Linked DNA regions of Homo sapiens: all the other regions are linked to region 1. The links are contacts of gene promoters, found by promoter capture Hi-C in human tissues and cell types (Jung and others, 2019). All regions are on one chromosome and are shown on one strand. The core of a region is centred on a gene start or on the middle of the fragment in contact, and the rest is flanking DNA. Distances in the headings are between cores, read along the strand shown. Region 1 holds the start of SMAD9 (SMAD family member 9). Region 2 overlaps ALG5 (ALG5 dolichyl-phosphate beta-glucosyltransferase). Region 3 overlaps SMAD9 (SMAD family member 9).

The links. Contacts are between HindIII fragments. The study calls those that stand out against the background at their distance.
Region 2: a contact is called between a fragment that was not itself captured here and the fragment with the promoter of SMAD9 in region 1, in 1 of the 25 tissues and cell types used here (thymus).
Region 3: a fragment that was not itself captured here is called in contact with the fragment with the promoter of SMAD9 in region 1 in 1 of the 25 tissues and cell types used here (H1 embryonic stem cells).

What each region holds. Positions count from the first base shown.
Region 1 is chr13:36,918,916-36,921,702 of GRCh38, reverse strand. SMAD9 (SMAD family member 9) reads left to right here and starts at 1,465. Exons shown (of 7, transcript NM_001127217.3): 1 at 1,465-1,587. RefSeq lists silencers at 1,325-1,374, 1,485-1,554. The HindIII fragment of the contact is 20,741 bases long and covers 1-2,787 here.
Region 2 is chr13:36,976,670-36,979,456 of GRCh38, reverse strand. The region is part of intron 6 of ALG5 (ALG5 dolichyl-phosphate beta-glucosyltransferase); the gene reads left to right. Among named protein-coding and RNA genes, the nearest start is that of ALG5, 21 kb to the left of the region's middle. The HindIII fragment of the contact is 7,313 bases long and covers 1-2,787 here.
Region 3 is chr13:36,871,537-36,874,323 of GRCh38, reverse strand. It overlaps SMAD9 (SMAD family member 9), which reads left to right. Exons shown (of 7, transcript NM_001127217.3): 3 at 1,409-1,666. Among named protein-coding and RNA genes, the nearest start is that of SMAD9, 47 kb to the left of the region's middle. The HindIII fragment of the contact is 5,023 bases long and covers 1-2,787 here.

The DNA.
Region 1 (2,787 bases), core at 216-2,715:
AACTGAGATAGTGATTGGGCCATTTCTTTTCTTAATTTAATTTTTAAAAACTTGAGCCACAAGGTATCAATTCTGAGGACCTAATTAGTTTACTGGCAATAAAGTCCACATCCAGCCTAATCCTTAATATATAATCTGTAGCCCTTACCGGTCCCGCTGTTTCCTGGTGTTTCTCACCCAGGACAATCTCAAACCCAACACATAGCCGGGTGCAGAGGTATCTGGGCCAGTGTAGAAAGAAGACTTTGAGGTTAAGGCATGGTATTTAAGGTTCTGCTGCAAATGTTGTTTTAAACAAATCACCGTTCAACTACAACGGTATAATAATGCAAAAATAGCATCTGCCATGAAGAAAGTGCAGTGCTTTGAGAACTAGAAAAAGCAGTTAAATTTAAGGCCTTGCTTTACATTTCGGAGCCGCCATCGGGGCCAACTGGAGGTATGACTTTCCTGCACACAGGAGCAAGCTGAAAACTGCCCTGTGGCTTTATTCCACGTTCACCCCTGCAGCAAATGCCTTTTCTGTGAGGAACTACGGGCTGATGGGGAATCAGAGGTGGTTCTTCCTAAGTGGCGTTTCTGAGTGGGTTCCAGGAGTCCACAGTGACTTTAAGAGGCAGGCTACCTGGGGGACAGCCAGGCCGTGAGACGAGAAAGTTGTACAGTAACATTGCTGTGTGCCCATAAGTTTGTATCTTTTATTAGATTAGATAATATATCTCACATGCTGGGTTGTTAAGCAAATAAATATGTGTAAGGAAATTACAATCCACATAATTACATGAGTCGTTTTAACCACCACTCACCCCCAGAGTGATTAGATTTTCTTCTGCCTATGCCATTGCGGCCCAGTTGCTCTGTCACTGTCCATGGGGACAGGATCCCCTTACTCCGAAAAGCAAATCAGGAACAAACAGGGCAAGTGAGAGTCACTATCAGGGCCCAGAAACATGTGAGGAACAGCAGCTCAGAAGGGTCTCCAGACTGATGGGCCGGTGATCCTATATTCTTGTTGGGCTGACAACTCTTCTGGTTTCGGGCTCCAGGTGCTGGCAAGAAATCTCAGAGGTGGGGTGGGAGAGAGAGACGCGAGGCGACCCACGCAGACAAAGGGCTCCCACCCCACCCCCGGGCCACCCCGGCAGGCCGGGCAGGGGCCGAGCCTGGGGTCGCGCAGGGGGACCGAGAGGGCAGCGCGGGGCTGGGGGTGGGGAAGAGGCGGGAACCGAGCCGCAGGCCGCTGCGAGGAGTACTACCCCGCCACCCCCGCGCCGCGAGTTTCCGCGCACGTGGCCGTGGGGCCGGTCTCGCTCCCGCCCCCCGCCGGGCCCGCGCAGCCCCCTCCTCTGCGGCTCCCGGAGCGGCCAGAGCGCGCGGCGGCGGGCGGGGGCGGGCCGCAAGCAGGGCTCCCTGGCCGCTTTCCAGGTCGGCGCACTAATACGGGCGATGAGGCTTCGCGGCTCCAGTCTGACTGACGCCGGCTGGGGCCGCCGCCGCCGCCGCCGCCGCCGCCGCTGCTGCAGCCGCTGTCTCGGTCCCCGCCGCCGCCGCCGGGCCCTGCAGGCGCTGGGCGCGCGCAGCCAGGCAGTGAGTGCGCGGCGCTCGGAGCGGGCGGCCGGGGGACCACGGCGGGGGCGGGGTTGGGGGCGCCGGACCTGGGTGGGGGAGGGATGAGTGGCACGGCGGGGACAGGTAAGACGTGCCCTCCTCGGCCGCGCGCTGCTTGTGTGCGTGCGTGTGAGCGCATTGAGTGGAGGGCGAAGTTGTTCGTCCTCGGGGCAGCCTGGGAGGCTCCTCGGCGTGAGGCTTGGCTTTTGGCGGTCGTTGTTCCCGGGTTTTTTGGTGGAGCCTGTCTGGGGTGGAGTGGGGTGGGGTGGGGTGGGCGCGGGGCCGGAGGGGACTGCTCTGGGGAGTTGGCCGCGGCGCAGCTCGCCTTCCTCGCGCCTGCATCCGCCCGCGCCGCGGGCCCCGGGACCTGTCAGGGGATGTTCGACCCGCGGCGGGGGCGGCGGTCGGGTCGGGGCTGGGGCCCGGGGCGTGGGCAGGGACCAGGATAGGCGCCTGAGGGGTCGCTTGCTGTAGCTGGAGATAGGGGACAGCGGACAGAGGGGGCGGCGGGGGTCGTCATTGTGACTCTTTGGGGGCCACTTTTAAACTCGCCAGCGCCGAATTGGCCTCACTTGCCTTCTGTTTCGTAGGCTTTTTGCTTTGTTTACCTTTGAGGCATGCGAACTGAGAAAAAAAGTTAGGAATGTTGTTGAAGTGTCTCCGGGCTCGCGCTTGGACTGTGTCGGAGCCGGGGTGTTTGTCTTTTCCTTGGCCCGCCCCTCGGTGCCAGCTCTCCGCAGAGGGGAGGGGGCGAGGTGGGAAGCAGATACAGGAGACTGCCTGACGCCAGCTTTGTGATCGGAAGGAGGAGCGCTGGGAGAACATTTTTATGGATGGCTAATCGCTGACAAGTTTTCCCGTTACTATTCCTTCCTCCTCCTGCCCTTGACCGTGGACATTTGAAGTGATAGTTTGGAAATACTACGTTGACTTATTTCTGGGCTGGAGTGGGTACTCCTGAGAACTAACCTACAAAGGATACAAATCGAGTTTGGAGATAAAATTGTATGTAAATTCTTTACCCAGTAGTTTACAGTGAGAAACACACCCACAGGGCACTGTGGAGTGCTTTGGATGGATCCAGTTTACTAGTACCATTTCGGTGGCTTGCCAGATTTCTCGGATGATCTTTTGGAAATGTAGGTTAGCAAGAAGCATGGAGGCTGACCGTTAAGTCGT
Region 2 (2,787 bases), core at 199-2,698, 58 kb before region 1:
TTTGTGGACCATGTGAGCAAGTCTAAGAAGCTGGTATGTTTGTTTCACCCTCTCAATATATGGGTAGAAAAGCAGGCTTCCAAAAGAGAACTCAACCTCCAAAGTCATTTGTTTTAGACACCATAACTCTGAGGTAGTGATTAAAATGAGGAAATGTGGCCGGGCACAGTGGCTCATCCCTGTAATACCAGCACTTTGGGAACCTGAGGACAGGCGTTTGAGACCAGCCTGGCCAACATGGTAAAACCCCATCTCTACTAAAAATACAAAAACTTAGCCATGCATGGTGGCACACACCTGTAGTCCCAGCTACTCAGGAGGCCGAAGCAGGAGAATAACTTGAGCCCAAGAGGTGGAGGTTGCAGCGAGCCAAGATCGTGCCACTGCACTCCAGCCTGAGCTACAGAGCAAGACTCCATAATTAATAAATAAATAAGGAAATGTATGTCAGGTGTTTAGCATGTGTTCAGCACTCAACCAGTACCTGTAATTATTAACATTCATCTTTTTTTCTTTTTTTTTCCTTTTTTTTTTTTTAATTGAGACCAAATCTCACTCTGTCACCCAGGCTGGAGTGCAGTGGCACAATCTCAGCTCACTGCAGCCTCTGCCTCCTGGGTTCAAGTGATTCTCCTGCCTCAGCCTCCCAAACAGCTGGGATTACAGGCATCCACCACCAGGCCCGGCTAACTTTTTTTGTATTTTTAGTAGAGGTGGGGTCTCACCATGGTGGCCAGGGCTGGTCTTGAACTCCTGACCTCAAGTGATCCTCTCACCTGGGCCTCCCAAAATGCTGGGATTACAGGCGTGAGCCACCACGCCCGGCTAACATTCATCTTTGTGCTTGATATTTTTTCATCAGATCCAATTCTGTTACTGTTTATGATTGTTAATATAAATTAGCTATATCTCTATCTATTCCTTTTCTCCAGTAAATTGTGTGAAAATATTTAACTTAAAAAGTACTGAGGACCGGGCACAGTGGCTCACGCCTGTAATCCCAGCATTTCAGGAGACTGAGGCATGCGGATCACCCGAGGTCAGGAGTTTGAGACCAGCCTGGCCAACGTGGCAGAACCCCATCTCTACTGAAAATATAAAAATTAGCTGGGTGTGGTGGCACGTGCCCATAATCCCAGCTACTTGGGAGCTGAGATAGGAGAATCTCTTGAAGCCAGAAGGCGGAGGTTGCAGTGAGCTGAGATTGTGCCACTGCACTCCAGCCTGGGTGACGGAGTGAGATTCCGTCTCAAAAAAAAAAAAAAAACAAAGGTGGGGCGCAGTGACTCATGCCTATAATCCCAGCACTTTGGGAGGCCGAGGCGGGTGGATCATGAGGTCAGGAGATGGAGACCATCCTGGCTAACATGGTGAAACCCCGTCTCTACTAAAAATACAAAAAATTAGCCGGGCATGGTGCCACGTGCCTGTAATCGCAGCTACTCGGGAGGCTGAGGCAAGAGAATCGCTTGAACCCAGGAAGTGGTTGTTGCAATGAGCCGAGATCTTGCCACTGTACTCCAGCCTGGGCAACAGAGTGAGATTCCATTAAAAAAAAAAAAAAATACTGAGAAAGATTTTGATTGATTTAGCATTTCTTGCTAGAAGATAATATATACTTTACTTCTTACCACCGTTTTTGTTTTTTTTTTTTTTTTTTTTTTTTGGAGACAGTCTCACTCTGTCGCCCAGGCTAGAGTGCAGTAGCATGATCTCAGCTCACTGCAACCTACACTTCCCGAGTTCAAGCAATTCTCATGCCTTAGCCTCCCAAGTAGCTGGGAATACAGGTGTGTGCCACCATGCCTGGCTGATTTTTGTATTTTTAGTAGAGACGGGGTTTCACCATGTTGGCCAGGCTGGTCTTGAACTCATGGCCTCAAGCGATTCCCCTGCCTCAGCCTCCCAAAGTGCTGGGAGTATAGGCATGAGCCACTGCACCTATTTTTTTGTTTTTTTAAATGAGTTGGGATCTCCTTCTGTTGCCCAGGCTGGGGTGCAATGGTGCCATCATGACTCAGCCACAATCCTCTTACCTCAGCCTCCCTAGTGGCTAGGACTACAGGCACATGCCACCACACCTGCCTCACTTATTAAAAGCCAACTGTCATAGTAACTTAAATACTCATTTTAAAAAACCATGGGAAATTCAGTTATACTCCAAAAGAGGTTTAAAAGAAAGAGACTCCATGTCTACAGACATTTTCTAACATGGGCAGTTTTTAAAACAAAGATATCTTTCATTTCTGAAGAACAGCTAACTTTTTGAAAAAATGTTTAGATTAATTCTACCTGATAGTGAGATTGGTATCAGGGATTCAGCTCTTACATCAGAATTCTTCAGATACACAAAACTCTTAAAAGCTCTTGGGGACTTATGCTGAGATAAAAACGAGATTTGTAAAAGAAAGTTTTTTGGATTTTGATTTGTTTTTAGTTAAATTACATGGTATTTTAACTCTACTCATGAATCTTTGAAATGGAGAAGTATGTTCTTTTTTATGTATTACTCAATAGTGTTGTTGCTCTTTTCAAGTTTAAAGTTAAAACTGATTTGCCATATGCTATTTGAACTTTTAACATGCTTCCTCTCTAAGAAAATCATTCTCTCCCTTTCTGCACAAAGTACCTCTACCAGAAAAACAAGGGAATAAATTATTTTACTACTAAATAGTAGGCAAAGTATATAACACAATTTTTTTTTTTCCTGAGACAGAGTCTCGGTCTGTTGCCCAGGCTGGAGTGCAGTGGTGCGATCTCGGCTCACCGCAACCTCTGCCTCCCAGG
Region 3 (2,787 bases), core at 187-2,686, 47 kb after region 1:
GGAATATTCCAGTTATCCCGCAGTGTTTGAAATTCAAGATGGAAAGACTAGGTCTGGATCTTTTCTTCATTAATTGAGCTCTGCACACTCTGTGGCTCTTTTCAACATGAAGACGTAGGTCCTTTGTAGCTCTTTGAGGTTTTCCTTTGTTATTTCTTAGACCACTTCCCCCTTGTATTTTCTTTGCTTCCCTGTCTGGAACTTATGTTGGTCACAGATGGCTCTTCAACAACAGTTTTGGAGTAGCTACTTTATGCCAGGCATTGTAACCTTCTAGGAGTCGGTAGGACGTGAGGGCCTGGGCAAAGCTTGCCCTTAAGAATTTGAATTTATTCTGAAATTTTGTGTATAATCAGAATCAAGAACAGTAACATTCTTTTTAAAAAATGAAACCCAGAAAAGCATAGTAAATGAACAAACATCATTTATGTTTTGTTATTGCTGCTTATTTTATTTTTTTGAGACAGAGTTTCACTCTTGTCACCCAGGCTGGAGTGCAATGGTATGATCTCGGCTCACTGCAACTTCCACCTCCCAGATTCAAGCGATTCTCCTGCCTCAGCCTCCTGAATAGCTGGGATTACAGGTGCCCGCCACCACACCCGGCTAATTGTTGTATTTTTAATAGAGACGGGGTTTCACCACGTTGGCTAGGCTGGTCTCAAACTCCTGATCTCAGGTGATCTGGCTGCCTCGGCCTCTCAAAGTGCTGGTATTACAGGCGTGAGCCACTGTGCCCTGCTGCTGCTCATCTTTTACTTAGTCACTTTTATTATTATTCACCGTTTGTGTTTTACTTAATAACTTTTAATTACTCACCTTGAAATCTTTCCATTAAGGACACATAGAATGTTTTTATTTCAGTGGCACTACTGAACCTGAAATTGAGTCTGGTCATCTAAATAATTCAACATGATCTCTGAAGGAAAAATATTCTGGGGATCACTTAGGGTTTCATTGCAAGCAAGAGAAACTGATTTTGCCTTGGGGGAAAAAAAGACTTATTTGGCAGAATTAAAGAAAGACGTAACAATCAGGTTGCCAGAAGGCCAGGTATTAGGACAGCTCTGGTCATTTCCAAGGTAGGAATAAAGAGCAGGTCTCTTTAGAGTGCTGACACTAGAAAGATCCTTCTCCAAATGCTTTTGTGAATTATGACATTCTGCTTAAGATTCCGGTTACAAGGAGAAGACTGTTACCTTAGCTTACTCACATGCTTGCTTCTTAGGTGGAGATGGGGACTTAATCGACAGTTTTATGATGAGCACAAAGACTAATGGGAGTAGTTCCCAAGGGGAAAAACAGCTCTATCATAAACAAAAAATAGATAAGAACAGCAAGTATCCACTCTGTTGTGTACTGATGAGCAATGTTCAATTCTAACTGCCTTGTTCCTTTCTGATCCTAGTACTGCCTCCTGTGCTCGTGCCAAGACACAGTGAATATAACCCCCAGCTCAGCCTCCTGGCCAAGTTCCGCAGCGCCTCCCTGCACAGTGAGCCACTCATGCCACACAACGCCACCTATCCTGACTCTTTCCAGCAGCCTCCGTGCTCTGCACTCCCTCCCTCACCCAGCCACGCGTTCTCCCAGTCCCCGTGCACGGCCAGCTACCCTCACTCCCCAGGAAGTCCTTCTGAGCCAGAGAGTCCCTATCAACACTCAGGTCAGTAAGAACTATGGTCTGTGGGGAAATACGGGAAAATAAGCCCAACATCATGATTTATGATGAACAGTCACAATGACAGTCATTGTAACTGTCATTCATATAGTATAAACAGTTTACAAAGCAATCAGCCTTAAAATGATTAGGACTATACCTATTTTGAAGCAGTTACCCTGGAGATAGAACATGTTTTTCCTCTAGTTTTAGTTCTAATGCTCTGGAAGCTCTCAGAAACTAAATGGATTTGAATAGTATCCCTGGGAATTTCCAAGGATTTTTTTTTTTAAGGCAGTAGAAATAAGATGAAAAGACTTCTGTAATCCAAGCAGAAGACTTGGCCTGAGGACAAGCAACATGGAAGATCAATGCTAGGCCTTTACCTTGGTTGCCTCTTTCAACAATCAAAGGAAGCCCTTGCCTAAAACATATGCCTGCATCCTTTGAGTGAGGCAGAAAGTGAAGCCCCAGCTCCAGCCAGTGCATTATCCCTTTCTGCCATGTGAAGCCAGGACAGCATCTTAAATATAGAGCTCTTCAGTTTGCTGAATTGAGAAAGCATATGGAAGGGAAAGGGAGCCTCTAGCATGCTGTCATAATTGCTCTTGCTACCATACCTGTAAAGTGGATCTAAGTTGAGATAATGAATAAAAGATACATATGCACTTTGTGAGTGTGAGATAAATACTGTGCGGAGCTGACAAGTTCCTAAAGGCATGCATAAATACATTTGGTGCCAGATGTTACAATCTGCCTCATTCATTTATTCCTATAATCATTTATTTAATGGATATTTATTAAACTCTTACTATATGCAAGCATTGCCTTAGGATTGCTGAAAGGGGAATTAAAAGGTTAATAAAAATTGTCCCTACGATGTGGGAAGATAAAGAGGGAATTGCCTCTTCACCTCTCAGTTACTTAGTTCCTTTTGCTCCTCAGCAAGTTACATAAGCATCTATTATATTTGTTGCACTATATTATATAATTCCTGTGTGTCTATTTTCCCCATTGAACAGCGAGCCTTCTTTTTTCTATGTCTAGCACAGAGCCTGAAATGCAGTGGTTGCTCATCAGTTGCTTATTGAATAAATAAATTACTACACAGGCGTTTATTTATTTTT